Regions from separate parts of the Homo sapiens genome. Here regions 1, 2, 3 and 5 are each linked to region 4. The links are contacts of gene promoters, found by promoter capture Hi-C in blood cells and fetal thymus (Javierre and others, 2016). All regions are on one chromosome and are shown on one strand. The core of a region is centred on a gene start or on the middle of the fragment in contact, and the rest is flanking DNA. Distances in the headings are between cores, read along the strand shown. Region 1 overlaps USP37 (ubiquitin specific peptidase 37). Region 2 overlaps USP37 (ubiquitin specific peptidase 37). Region 3 overlaps RUFY4 (RUN and FYVE domain containing 4). Region 4 holds the start of GPBAR1 (G protein-coupled bile acid receptor 1). Region 5 overlaps VIL1 (villin 1).

Region 1 (2,795 bases), core at 277-2,776, 220 kb after region 4:
CAAAGTAAAGCAAAATTAAAATCTCCTTCTTGGTCTGATTTCTTTTCTTTTCTTTTCTTTTTTTTTTTTTTTTTGAGATAGGGTCTTGCTCTGATCACCATTCACTGCAGCCTTCATCTCCCAGGCTCCAGCAATCCTCCCACCTCAGCCTCGAGTAGCTGGCACTACAGGTGTGTGCCACCATGCTGGCTTTATTATTTTATTTTTTGTAGAGATGAGGTCATGCTCTGTTGCCATAGGTGGTTTCAAACTCCTAGGCTCAAGCGATTCTCCTGCCTCAGCCTCCCAAAGTGCTGGGATTACAGGCATGAGCCACTGCATCTGGCCATTGATCTGATTTTACCTTGGAGTCATATTATGTAATTCAGTCATTCTTTTGATTAGATACTAAAGCCTTTCTATTTCAAAAGGGAATATAAAGACATAGTCTCTCAAGGACTTACATTGCCATATGTGCACTCCAACCAAGGGTAAAAGGTGGTTTTGTATTTTCAGTGCAATGAGATGACAGGGTCAGGTATCTTGGAATGATGACTTGCTGCCCAATCTTATTGTTAAGCGAGAGAGCCACATTGAAGCTATATCGTTTCAAATGGAGAATGAGGACCCTGAAAAACAGGAGATGACAACCTTACTAATTCATACATAATACATGTATCTTTCTTACAGTAAAAGAGATCACTCTATGTTAGACGACTTTTGATTTAAAAAATCCATTTGGCCAAACCAAAGACACGTCAAAGAATATTTACTGAATACCTGTTAGTGCCAGGCATTGGGCTAGGTAAAAAGCATACAAATAATGGTGGATTAGTGTGGTTTGGGTAAAATACTTATAATGTTCCTAGAAAAAACACAAATAAATAAAATATAGCAGACAAGAATGTTAAATTTGGCACTGATATTGGGTTAAATCCTTAAATTATTTACTTCACTGTTACATAGTTTAAAAAGCAATAGGTTTTATATAACCACTACTAGTAAAATAATGTCTATTAAAATGTTACATAGCTCTTATATTTGATGGTAAACATTAATTACTTCAAGATGATTTTTGATGAGAATTATTCTTTTATTTTCAGAAGTACTTTCTCTGTAGAAAGCTAAGGAGGAAATACAAAACTTTTCCCCATTTAGAAAAAAGCTTTACAAAAATTTGCATGCCAAATCTGATCTGTGGGTCTGTAAAGGCTTTTAGCTCTTTAGAAGCACTGAATTCTTTGTGGTTAAAATTGTGGTAACCTTTTCACTTCTCACACAGAACACGATCTCTGCTTGATGGATTAAATATATTTCTCAACCCACAAGAACACTTTAAAAATTGAATTTCAAACATCTTATGGGAATAAACTTCAGTTCTAGGCACACACACAAAAATGATCTATAAAAAACTGATTCTTACCATATATGCCTTCATCACAGAAGCCACAAACAAAAATTTGCAAACTGAAGTTATAGATTGTAGTTCTCTTTAAAAAGCGTGCTAGAACTCAGGATCTTCAAATATACAATTTGAGAGAATACAAGGACACAACTGATATGAAACCAATGTCAAAATTAAATATTTTAACTAGAATTTCAAATAACCTAACCAAAATAAAAGGTAATATGAGGCTACTCTGGACACACTGCCTATAGTGTAGCCCTGCTATGCATGGAGCAGTAAAAGGTGGGGGGGAAGGTAATATAAAACAGGAAAATGATAGTCAAAATCACTGATCTTCAAAGATGAGGCCCAACTTTGTGAACAGATTTGATAATGGCATCAGGCTCTTCAAGAATAAGAGTGGCTTTGAATATTAAACTGAACAAAAGTAGAACAAGACTAATCATTAGGATTTAAAGAGTGGCTTTGAATATTAAATTGAACAAAAGTAGAACAAAACTAATATTAGGATTTGACAAACAGAAGCTTCTATCACATAAGTCTGGAATAAATTAACCTTTAACACAAGTGATCTACCAGGAAAAAAAAAAAAAAGAAAAAAAAGAAAGAAAAACAAGGAGAAAAATTCCCCTTAGCATTTTTTTCCCCCCACTTGAAAAACCAAATAGCAAGAGAATGGGAAAGAGAAAAGACATCCAGCATGTGAGGTCAAAACTAGTCTTTTTAACTGTACACATAATTTCCTTAGTGACAGCTGGTAACAACCAATTCTTTGCCTTAAGATTCTTCCTCCCACCTTCCTGGCCTCAAACCACTCACAAACAGGAAAGAACAAATTCTCTTAATCCAAAAATATAAGTCTCTTAAGTCAATATAATAATACTGCTATGATTTATACACTTGAGGAGGCCGAGGCGGCCACATCACCTGAGGTCAGGAGTTTGAGACCAGCCTGGCCAACACGGCGCGACCCTGTCTCTACCAAAAACACAAAAATTAGCCAGGCGTGGTGGCGCGTTCCTGTAATCCCAGCTACTCAGGAGGCTGAGGCAGGAGAATCGCTTGAACCCAGGAGGCGGGGGTTGCAGTGAGCCGAGATCATGCCACCGCATTCCAGCCTGGGCAACAGAACGAGACTCTGTTTGAAAAAAACAAAAAACACAACATTTTTTGTAGAGATGGGGGTCTCACCATGTTGCCCAGGCTGGTCTTGAACTCTTGGTCTCAAGCAAACCTTCCACCTTGGCTTCTCAAAATGTTGAGATTACAGGCGTGAACCACCACACCCAGCCTTTATAAAGTCATTTCTTTAAAACCAACTTCCTTGGCCCGGCGCGGTGGCTTATGCCTATAATCCCAGCACTTTGGGAGGCCAAGGCAGGTGGATCACCTGAGGTCAGGAGTTCAA
Region 2 (2,700 bases), core at 93-2,592, 200 kb after region 4:
AAGAATGAAGCCAGGCACGGTGGCTCACACCTGTAATCCCAGCACTTTGGGAGGCCGAGGCAGGTGGATTACCTGAGGTCAGGAGCTGGAGACCAGCCTGACCAACATGGTAAACTCCACCTCTACTAAAAATACAAAATTAGCTGGGCATGGTGGCACATGCCTGTAATCCCAGCTACTTGGGAGGCTGAGGCAGGAGAATCGCTTGAACTCAGGAGGCAGAAGTTGCAGTGAGCCAAGATCACGCCACTGCACTCCAGCCTGGGCAACAAGAGAGAAACTCCATCTCAAAAGAAAAAAAAAAGAAAAAAGAAAATCTAAGAATGTGAAGAACAGGAAAAGAGAATATAGCTTCAAAATTCTGGAAGTTGGAAATACATGTGTGACTGACTCAGCAGACCTAAGAAAGCCAAAGCCATACCCCAAGCCAGCAATGGAAAAGTTGAAAACTAATCCAATTTATATCACTGAATGTTCAAAAGACACAAGAAGACATGGAAGAACTAGGCCAGGCATGGTGGCTCACACCTCTAATCCTAGGACTTTGGGAGGCCGAGGCGGGTGGGTGAACTGCCTGAGATCAGGAGTTCGAGACCAGCCTGGGCAACATGCCAAAACTCCATCTCTACTAAAATGAAATATAAAAAATTAGCTGGAACCTGGGCACGGTGGCTCACACCTGCAATCCCAACACTTTGGGAGGCCAACGCAGGTGGATCACCTAAGGTCAAGAGTTCGAGACCTGCCTGGCCAACATGGTGAAACCTCATCTCTACTAAAAATACAAAATTTAGCTGGATGTGGTGGTGGGTGCCTGTAATCCCAGCTACTTGGGAAGCTGAGGCAGGAGAACTGCTTGAACCTGGGATGCTGAGTTTGCAGTGAGCCAAGATTGTGCCATTGCACTCCAGCCTCGGCAACAAGAGTGAAACTCTGTCTCAAAAAAAGAAAAAAAAAAAATTAAAAAATTAGCTGGGTGTGGTGGTGCACGCCTATAGTCCCAGCTACTCAGGAGGCTGAGGCACAAGAATCACTTGAATCCGGGAGGCAGAGGTTGCAGTGAGCAGAGATCACGCCTCTGCACTCCAGGCCCTGGGCAACAGAGCATGACCCTGTCTCCAAAAAAATGAAGACATGGAAGAACCAGGAACCAGGTACCTCTGAAACTGGGGGATAAGGAGGGGATAAAATAAAGATTAGGTAAAAGCTGTTTGAGAAACAGATTCCTACATCTACTTCTTCCAGCTTCCTAACTCATGGACTTCTAAAACCTGGTCCACATATTAGTTCTGCCAAATGCTACGACATGTGAACCTTATGCTACTGAATACACTCACTCATGACTGCCCACTGACTGCCCCAGAATAAGCTCTTGAAAATTCACGGGGAAACTGAAGCCACATTATGTTCTTCTAGGAGTCGTAACAGTGGCAAAATTATAATTCTTTCATTAAACAGATGATAGATTGTTCTTGCTAATTTTTCAATATTAAAAAACATATTGTTAGAGATATGGGTATAGATGACAAAAATTATTTTGAAAAAAGCAAGCTGAAGATGAATACAAATGTTAGAATAGTGGTTTCCTCTGGGAGGAAGACAAAAAGGAGAGATATAAAGGTTACTTCTAAGGTTCTATTTCTTTACCTGGGAGGTATTCAAATTTGTTATCAAAAAACACATTTTAGCTTGTAATCTCGGCACTTTGGGAGGCTGAGGAGGGTGGATCACTTGAAGCCAGGAGTTCAAGACCAGCCTTGGCCAACATGGTGAAACCCCGTCTCTACTGAAAATACAAAAATTAGCTGGGTGTGGTGGCACAACCGCTAATTCCAGCTACTCGGGAGGCTGAGGCATGAGAATTGCTTGTACCCAGGACGTGGAGGTTGCAGTGAGCCAAGATTGCACCACTGCACTCCAGCCTGGGTGACAGAGTGAGAGGCTCTCCCCCACAATAAACACACACACACACACACACACACACACACACACACACACACACACACACACACACTTTCTTTATATGTTCTTCTATGTGTGAATGGTAATTTTACCATTAAAAAAATGTAATTAAAAAGATCTCCACACCTTGAAGACTTAACTCGGTAGCTCTTTTGAGGTCATCATCTTCTTTCTGTTCCCAAGCCTCCTAAAGGGAAAAGAACAAAAACTAAGGTATTTAAAGAGGTACTGATTAAACTTACTTAATGAGGATAAAATCAGTTTCTCTGGAAGCATTTGCTAAGAATGCTTTCTATAACCTTATGGATGTTTGGAATATTACCTTTTGAGGAATGTGGGGAAGTTCTTTACTTTTTTTTTTTTTTTTTTTTTTTGAGACGGAGTCTCGCTCTGTCCCCCAGGCTGGAGTGCAGTGGTGTGATCTCGGCTCAATGCAAGCTCCGCCTCCTGGGTTCACGCCATTCTCCCGCCTCAGCCTCCCAAGTAGCTGGGACTACAGGCGCCCGCCACCACGTCTAGCTAATTTTTTGTATTTTTAGTAGAGATGGGGTTTCACCATGTTAGCCAGGGTGGTCTCAATCTCCTGACCTTGTGATCCGCCCACCTCGGCTTCCCAAAGTGCTGGGATTACAAGTGTGAGCCACTGCGCCCGGCCCACTCCAGTATTTTTTAAGATTTTTTTTTTTTTTTTTTTTGAGAGGGAGTCTTGCTCTGTTGGCAGGCTGGAGGGCAGTGGCA
Region 3 (2,700 bases), core at 158-2,657, 180 kb before region 4:
AGGGGGAACCAGATCAATACCCAAGACCCAGGTGCAGGAGGGAGAAGGATGTGGGCTGCGGGAAGGGACAGAAGGACATCAGGATGTCCCTCACCAGACCAAAGCATGGCGCTCAGATCACCTGGGTGTTGCTAAAAGTCAGATTTGGGGTTTGATAAATCAAAGCTTCCAGTGAGAGGACCTGGTACCTATCTATTTAGCAAGCTGATTAGATTAGCACTGTGGCCTAATCTAATGGCACCAGGTCAGTGAATTGGTGCTGAGAGGGATGACTGGTTTTGGGTCCTCTCCACAGATCCCAGCCGCATATGGAGGGCCTGAAAATGTCCAGATTGAGGACTCACACACCAGTCAAGCCATCTGTCTGCAAGATGCACCCAGTGGACAGCAGCTGGCAGGGCTTCCCAGGTCCCAGCAACAAAGGCATCTTCCTTTCTTTTTGGAAAAGAAGGGGGAAAGTTCCAGGAAACATAGGTACCCCCAGAGCATGTGGGAGCCAGAAGGGAAGGAGCTTCAGCTAGACCAGGAGGAAAGAGCCCCATGGATTGAGATCTTCCTGGGGAACTCAACACCCAGCACCCAGGGACAGGGGAAGGGGGCTATGGGCACTCAGAAGGAGGTGATAGGGATGGAGGCTGAGGTCACAGGGGTTCTGCTGGTTGCAGAGGGTCAGAGAACAACAGAGGGGACTCACAAAAAGGAAGCAGAGTGGAGTCACGTCCAGAGGCTGCTGATGCCCAGCCCCAGAGGGGCTGTAGAGGGAGCAGTATCAGGGAGCAGGCAGGGGTCGGGGGGCTCTAGCATCCTGGGGGAGCCCTGGGTCCTTCAGGGACACGCAACAAAGGAAGACTCTACCGTGGAGAATCCACAAGTGCAAACAGAAGTGACCCTTGTGGCCAGAAGGGAGGAGCAAGCCGAGGTGTCCCTGCAGGACGAGATCAAGGTGAGAACAGTTGAGCTCCATACCTGGTTATTTGCCCCTGTCTGACCTGGCCCACAGATGAGGGTCTGCAATGGTAGCCTGGGACCATTCCCTCCCACGGGTCAATTTTTATTGGCCCACTCAGGATTATTATTTGGGGATGCCTTTGAAAGCCATACATTCTTCAGGTCCCCACAGTCCCCGCCTCTCCCTATTGCCCCACGCTAGACCCACTTTATTCGGCAATACTTCTTGCCCAGCCCCAGTAGGCTTTGGAGTTTGAGATCCCTTCCCAGCAGTTCTTCCAGGCAGTCACTTCCTCTCTCCAGTTCCATATCCTCATGATGGTAAGTCTCTTCCCGAAATCTAAGTTCTACTGTTGCAGAGCCCACCTAGTTGCTCCTGTGGTGGATGCTTCTCCTGGAGGTCACTCAAGATTGTCACCAAGCCTCCCTTCGGCCTCCACCCAGGAACTTGCAAGTTTCTGAGTTTACAACTTCCACCCTTCAGTGAAGGAAGAAACCGTGGCCCAGGCACACCCAGAAGCAGGGCCTAGGACAGAGCCAGGCATCACAGCTCCCAGCACTGTCCCCAGCCCTGCCAGGGCATGGCCTGGGGTCTCTCGGGAATGTTGTTCAGGTCAGCCCCAGCACTGGGGTCTCTGCCCTTCTCCTTCAGCCTCCTTCTCCCCTCCTTCCACCCCACAGAGCCTCAGACTTGGGCTCCGGAAGGCTGAGGAGCAGGCCCAGCGCCAGGAGCAGCTGCTGAGGGAGCAGGAGGGGGAGCTGCAGGCACTTCGGGAGCAGCTCAGCAGGTAACCTTGGCAACCCACAGCACAGGGCACCTGGAAGTGCTCCCTAGGTCCTGCTGTCAATCACGGTCAAGCCAGTGAGGTCTTGTGAGAACCTCCCATGCACCAGGCCCTGGACTGGGCACACCTTTGGGATCTGAGGCCTGCAGGGCATTGCTCCTGATCCCAGGGCTCCACCCTCCCTCCTCTGTGCATCCCTTTCTCGTAGGTCTCCCAGAGCAGGAGCAGCCCCAGGAAAGGCCCCGCCTCCTGGCCTGCTTCCTTCCCACCCTCACCCCTGCCTCCCTCTGCTGCCTCCCCTGGGCAGCTCCTCTCTCTTTTTCACCCTCTCTGCCTCCCTACTCCACTGGACTTCTTTCCCCCATCTCTTTCTGTCTCCCTTTTTTACTCAGTTTCTTTGTGTCTCATTTGCTTCTTCCTGTTATGCCACCTCTCACCCTCTCATAATCACAGCTATCATTTACTAAGCATTTACTACGTCCCAGGCACTGCTGTCGGTGCTTCTGCGTAACACCCTTATGAGATGAGTTCTATAGAACCCCCATTTTATAGAGGAGGAAGCTGAGGCTCAAAGATGCTGCACAATTCACCCACCATTGGCTAGTTAGCGGGGGAGCTGAGATTCAAGGCCTGCAGCTGACTCCAGAACCAGTGGGCTCAGACGCCCCATTCAGGCAGCATGTCGAGTGCCTGCACTTCAGTCTCTCCGTTTCTCCTGCTCAGTGTCTCTCACCATCCAGTGTCTTCATCTTCCGTCATCACATTGACCTCAGGGGCCCACAGCACGCTGTCTGTCTCTACCATCCCCCCTCAGTCCTCAGTCTCTCAGGTCTCAGTTTCTCTCTCTCTCTCTCTCTTTCTTTTTGTAGAGACGAGGTCTCACTACATGGTGCAGACTGGTCTCAAATTCCTAGGCTCAAGCTTCAGCCTTCCAAAGTGCTAGGGTTGCAGGCATGAGCCACCACAC
Region 4 (2,700 bases), core at 108-2,607:
GCTGGCACAGCCACACTCCACGGGCTTCCAGCCCTTCAGGCCCAGCTCTCCCGGAGAGCACCAGAGTCCCTTTGCTCCATTTACTTGCGCTCTTCAGCCAGCAAGTGTTTCCTAATGTCTCACCCCCAGTCCCAGCTTTCCTGCTGCAATTTCCGCCTGTTCCCTCCCATTTCAGGCCTTAAGGGAGTGTGGCTGGGCTTCTCTCCTCCCCCTCACTCCAAAGCCGCACTTGATACAAGGTGGAAATCAAAGCACCACTTCTGGCTTCCCAGCCTTGAACTTGCCCTTCCCTCTCAATGTATCTGGTTTCCTCAGCTTCCCTGTGCAGCAAGAGTGTCACTCCCCTCTTGCTTTTCCCAAGCTCCCCATGCGCCCCTCTCAGCAGATCTGTCTTAGAGGGGCCAGGTGCAGAGAAAGGCAGAAATCCTAATAATGTTCCCAGCGATCGCTGCCTGTCGCGGAGTGCTGAAGGGCCAAGTGTTGATCTGAGTCCTCATCACACGGGACTTCATTTAGTCTCACGATAGGTGAGTACAACTATGGGCCCCATTTGACAGATGAGGAAACTAAGGCAAGGGAACTTTAGTCATTTGCCCAAGTTCACTGGCTTTTTTAAAAAAGGATCCAGACAGCTCTGATTCCAGCGCCAGCTCATGCCTCTTCATCATGGGGGAGGAAAGAGAGGGAGCCATTTGTTGGGGCAAACCCCCACCCATCAAGGGCCATGCACTGGGGTATATGCCGCCATATGTGTTATCCTGTGATATTCCCCACCACGACCTTAATTAGAGGTGGTTTTTCTTGTTCCCATTTTAACACAGGCAAAAACCGAGGCCCAGTAGTACCTTACCCATGGTCACATCCCCAGAGCCATTTGTCCCTCATAGTTCAGAACTTGACTCAGAAAGCAGTTGAGAAAAGTGTGGAATGACCCCAGATTCAGGAAGGCAAGTCTGGCCTTAGAAACTGAAAGGCCCATCAGGTGATGGGATGGGGGAGTGAAGATCCTCAGGCCCCAAACACCTGCCACTGCCACCATCACACACGGAAGTGTGGAGGGAGCCTGGTGTGCTGTCAGCTGGCTGGCCAGTCCAGGGGCTTAAATGTAAATGCATCAGCTGAGGCGGGAAGTCGGGAGGGGTAAGTCAATCATTATTATTCATTAACTGGAATGCATTTCTCAGATTACTCCGAGCTGGAGTAGGGAAACTGCCACCTAGGTGGCAGGGGGAGAGGGGAACTGGGTGGGAGGGGGAGGCAGGCCTCCCAGTTGCTGCAGTTTGGAATATGTCAGGTCCCACCCTCCCAGAGGCGGGGCCAGGGCTGAGTCCTGCCAGCCTCATTTCTCTATCCCTCTGAGAACCCAGACGGGCAGAGCCTGGGTAGGAGAGCCTGGCCCCGCTGTCCCCACTGGGTGGAGACACCATGCACTTGGTCCACTTGTGCTCTTCAGCCAGGACACCAGACATGGTCCAAACCGCTGCAGGGCTGGCTGCAGCAACTCCCTGACACTCAGGAAGGCCCAGGCTGGGCAGGCAATACCTGCTCCCAACAGCCATGTGAGTAGCTACTCCCCCAAACCCCCAAACCCCAGATCCTGGAGAGGCTACTACACCCAGCCCAAGCCACCAGACCCTCGGGGGTGTGCAGGTGGTACAGCCTGCACCCTGCTGGGAAATCACCCCTGGGGGCTGCTCCCTGCCTTTGTCGCTGTTCTAGTGGAGGTGGGTTGGGGGGAATCATTCCGATTAGGGCTGGGAGCTCCAGCTCAGGCCAGGTTTGGGGTAATGGACCCTGAGTCTCACGGGACTTAAGAGAGTTGATGATGCCCTGGGAAAGGGAACAGAAACTGCAAGGCCTCTAGAGAGGAAAAGACATCCTGGGTGGAGGGCACTGGAAGAGATTGAGAAAGAGAAAACATGCTTAGGGGAGGGGAAAGGGGGCATAAGGCCTTGGAGGCCCAGGCTCAGGGTGCTGGGGGAACCTGGGAAGGAAGGGGAGCATCTTCCTTCCTCTCAGCTCAGGGCAGCCATGGGGCCCTGATCCCCTGTCCTGGAGGAGGGGAGAGGTATGAATCCTTTCCTTATTGACTTGGATCCTAGCAACAGCAGCTGCTCCCCTGTTGACAGAAGCAGGAGTTCCCACAGGACCCAGGACCCCTCCCCCTGTCCCCAGGATGTGGCAGCAGAGCCATGACACTGGAGGACTGAGACCAGGGAATGACGGGAAGGACAGGGACAGATGAGAGCCACAGAGAAGCCAGACTCTGCCCAGACTCCTCTTCCCTCTCCTCTGGGCTCAGCCTCAGGCCTGGGGGTGTGGGGGAGTCCCTCTCCTTGCTGCTGGCATCTCCACGTTCACTGCCACACGTGCCCTCCAGCTGCTTCTCTCCTCCCTCCAGCTCCCAGGAAGGACCCTGTTGCTAGTGTGGAGCAAAGACGAGTCAAGTTTATGGGCTGGAAGTCCTACCCGGAGGCTGCTCACTGAGCTGTGATGGCTACAAGGACAGATGGGGGGAAGGGTGCAGGGTGCCCGAGACCTGGCCCGCTGGAGCCTGTCACCTAATGGCTGGCTGGAAGACCACTACACACCAGCCAGCCCTGGTCCATTCTCTCATTTAGAGGCCTCCCCGGTGGAGGCAGGGATACACAAAATGCTTTGGGGCTGGATGGGCCCGCCTTTCAGTCTAAACAAGAGACC
Region 5 (2,700 bases), core at 21-2,520, 180 kb after region 4:
GTGGGTGGATTGCTTGAGCCCAGGAGTTTGAGACTAGTCTTCGTAACATGGGGAAACCCCATCTTTACAAAAAATAAAAAACAGCCAGGTGTGGTGGTGCGTGCTTGTGGTCCCAGCTACTCAGGAGGCTGAGGTGGGAGGTTGGTTTGAACCCAGGAGGCAGAGGTTGCAGTTAGCTGAAATTGTGCCACTGCACTCCAGCCTGGGCAACAGAGTCAGACCCTGTCTCAAAAAAAAAAAAAAAAAAAAACCCGAAAAAAGAAAAGAAAAAAAATGTATTTAGCCTTTAGGCCTGGGACACGGGAATATGAAATCAAAACCTTTGCTTTGAGAAGTTCACAGGCTTATAGAGAGAACAAGACAGAGCTAACTCTGAGGAATGTGTCCAGAATTCAAGAGCAAGTTCACAAGCACACTGGGGTATAATCAACAGATGGTCAAAACCTGCAGCACTCATGAAACCCTTCTTGGTGGACTGACAGTACAGACTGGCATGTATAGATAGGTCAAGGTTAAGTGAATTTATAGATGACAATTTCACAACAGATAAGAGAGACAGGGTCATAAATATCCAGGCTAGATCTCCAACTCTGGGGAAAGCCATGGGAAAGTTAATGAATCGTTAAAGAAAAGAGTCATTTTCCACCAATGGACTTCGGTCAGAACAGACCACTAAGCTCTATGTTGTTGTTGTTGTTGTTTTGAGGAGTCTCTCTCTGTTGCCCAGGCTGAAGTGCAGTGGCGCAATCTCAGCTCACTGCAACCTCCACCTCCCAGGTTCAAACGATTCTCCTACCTCAGCCTCCTGAGTAGATGGGATTACAGGCGCCTGACACCACACCTGGCTAAGTTTTGTATTTTTAGTAGAGATGCGGTTTCACCATGTTAGACAGGCTGGTCTTGAACTCCTGACCTCAAGTGATCCACCCACCTCAGCCTCCCAAAGTGCTGGGATTACAGGCGTGAGCCACTGCACCCAGCCTATGTTGTTCTTATGAGTGTGTGTGTGGCAGGGTGGGGTGGGACATGGGAGGCTTCTTGAAGGTGGTGCCCTAGAGACTTCAGAGAGAAAGGCAGCCTGGGAGGTAGCTGTGCACCAGCTAAAGTAACCAGTGGTTTCCTTTTCTTTCCTAGGAGGTCACAAGCCCCAAAGTGGACGTGTTCAATGCTAACAGCAACCTCAGTTCTGGGCCTCTGCCCATCTTCCCCCTGGAGCAGCTAGTGAACAAGCCTGTAGAGGAGCTCCCCGAGGGTGTGGACCCCAGCAGGAAGGAGGTAGGTCAGATTCTCAAAGGAAGACAAAGAAGTCCATTTGTTGGACCACCATAGTTGACTCCCAGATTTGGCCCTGCAGGTGACTAGGTGCTGGGGATGAACAAGACAGATGGGATCCTGCCTTCATGCCACCTTATATCCCAGGAGGAGAGAGATCAGAGAAGCCTGGTTACACTATTATTTAATTTCAGGGTTAAGTGCCAGAAAGGTGAAGTACAGGAGCTGTGAAGAGTATTACAAACAGGGCCGGGTGCAGTGGCTCATGCCTGTAATCCCAGCACTTTGGGAGGCCGAGGTGGGTGGATCACCTGAGGTCAGGAGTTTGAGACCAGCCTGACCAATATGGGGAAACCCCATCTCTACTAAAACTACAAAAATTAGCCAGGTGTGGTGGTGTATGCCTGTAATCCCAGCTACTCGGGAGGCTGAGCCATGAGAATTGCTTGAACCCGGGAGGTGGAGGTTGCAGTGAGTCAAGATCATGCCACTGCACTCCACCCTGGGTGACAGAGTGAGACTGTCTCAAAAAAAGAAAAAAAAAAAAGGTATTACAAAGAGGAGCCTGATTTAGAGATTTCTTTCTGAAAGACAAATAGGAATTATTGAGGCAAAGTAAGTTAGTTCTGGAGAAGGGACAGCTAACATGAAGCCCAAAGGCAAGGAATAAAAATGGGGGCAAAACTGCAAGAGGGCCAGAGTGGCTGTGGTGGTGTGCAGAGCCAGGGAGGGAGGCAGGGCTGAACTGGCAGTGCCTTCTACCCCAAGTTAAGGATCGTATCATGTATCCTGGTGGTGAAGGGGAGTATCATTATGGTTGAAGTAGCAGAGTGACAGACTTACATTGGCCTGGCACGGTGGCTCATGCCTGTAATCCCAGCACTTTGAGAGGCCGAGGAATGCGGATCACCTGAGGTCAGGTGTTCGAGACCAGCCTGGCCAACATGGTGAAACCCCATCTCTACTAAAATTACAAAAATAGCCGGGCATGGTGGCTTGTGCCTATAATCCCAGCTACTCGGGATGCTGAGGCAGGAGAATCACTTGAACCCAGGAGGTGGAGGTTGCAGTGAGCCGAGATTTCACCATTGCACTCCAGCCTGGGCGACAAGAGTGTAACTCCATCTCAAAATGATAATAATAATAATAATTATAGCTTCTCATCGAACAATAGCCTGGAAGGTGGCAAGAGCAGCCATAGGAACACCAGTTAGGAGAGACAGCACAGCTGCTCTCAGGCCGACAGGTAGGTGGGAACCTAGAACAAGTCATGGTGGAGGAGGTGGAGAGAAACATTTAGGAGGTAAAATCAATGATATTTGGTAATTACTGGATAAAGAGTATGAGAGAAGAGAAAATAGCATCATTCTCCAAGATAGAAAACTGGATCAGGCTGAGCTTAGGGGAAGACAATCATGAGTTTGGTGG

The links. The method cuts DNA at HindIII sites, captures the fragments that hold promoters and counts their contacts. A CHiCAGO score of 5 or more calls a contact.
Region 1: a fragment that was not itself captured here is called in contact with the fragment with the promoter of GPBAR1 in region 4 in 6 of 17 cell types (neutrophils, monocytes, total CD8 T cells and 3 more); the score reaches 15.5 in neutrophils.
Region 2: a fragment that was not itself captured here is called in contact with the fragment with the promoter of GPBAR1 in region 4 in 3 of 17 cell types (neutrophils, monocytes and naive CD4 T cells); the score reaches 10.7 in neutrophils.
Region 3: a fragment that was not itself captured here is called in contact with the fragment with the promoter of GPBAR1 in region 4 in 1 of 17 cell types (neutrophils); the score reaches 6.1 in neutrophils.
Region 5: a fragment that was not itself captured here is called in contact with the fragment with the promoter of GPBAR1 in region 4 in 1 of 17 cell types (neutrophils); the score reaches 7.4 in neutrophils.

What each region holds. Positions count from the first base shown.
Region 1 is chr2:218,481,627-218,484,421 of GRCh38, forward strand. USP37 (ubiquitin specific peptidase 37) reads right to left here. Exons shown (of 26, transcript NM_020935.3): 17 at 444-608. Among named protein-coding and RNA genes, the nearest start is that of VIL1, 64 kb to the left of the region's middle. The HindIII fragment of the contact is 768 bases long and covers 1,143-1,910 here.
Region 2 is chr2:218,461,218-218,463,917 of GRCh38, forward strand. It overlaps USP37 (ubiquitin specific peptidase 37), which reads right to left. Exons shown (of 26, transcript NM_020935.3): 22 at 2,089-2,149. Among named protein-coding and RNA genes, the nearest start is that of VIL1, 43 kb to the left of the region's middle. The HindIII fragment of the contact is 7,620 bases long and covers 1-2,700 here.
Region 3 is chr2:218,074,798-218,077,497 of GRCh38, forward strand. It overlaps RUFY4 (RUN and FYVE domain containing 4), which reads left to right. Exons shown (of 13, transcript NM_198483.4): 9 at 296-943; 10 at 1,630-1,736. Among named protein-coding and RNA genes, the nearest start is that of RUFY4, 6.9 kb to the left of the region's middle. RefSeq lists an enhancer at 1,231-1,732. The HindIII fragment of the contact is 2,489 bases long and covers 164-2,652 here.
Region 4 is chr2:218,259,658-218,262,357 of GRCh38, forward strand. It overlaps GPBAR1 (G protein-coupled bile acid receptor 1), which reads left to right and starts at 1,358. Exons shown (of 2, transcript NM_170699.3): 1 at 1,358-1,559. RefSeq lists an enhancer at 1,805-2,610. The HindIII fragment of the contact is 11,967 bases long and covers 1-2,700 here.
Region 5 is chr2:218,439,588-218,442,287 of GRCh38, forward strand. It overlaps VIL1 (villin 1), which reads left to right. Exons shown (of 20, transcript NM_007127.3): 19 at 1,135-1,275. Among named protein-coding and RNA genes, the nearest start is that of VIL1, 22 kb to the left of the region's middle. The HindIII fragment of the contact is 5,722 bases long and covers 1-2,700 here.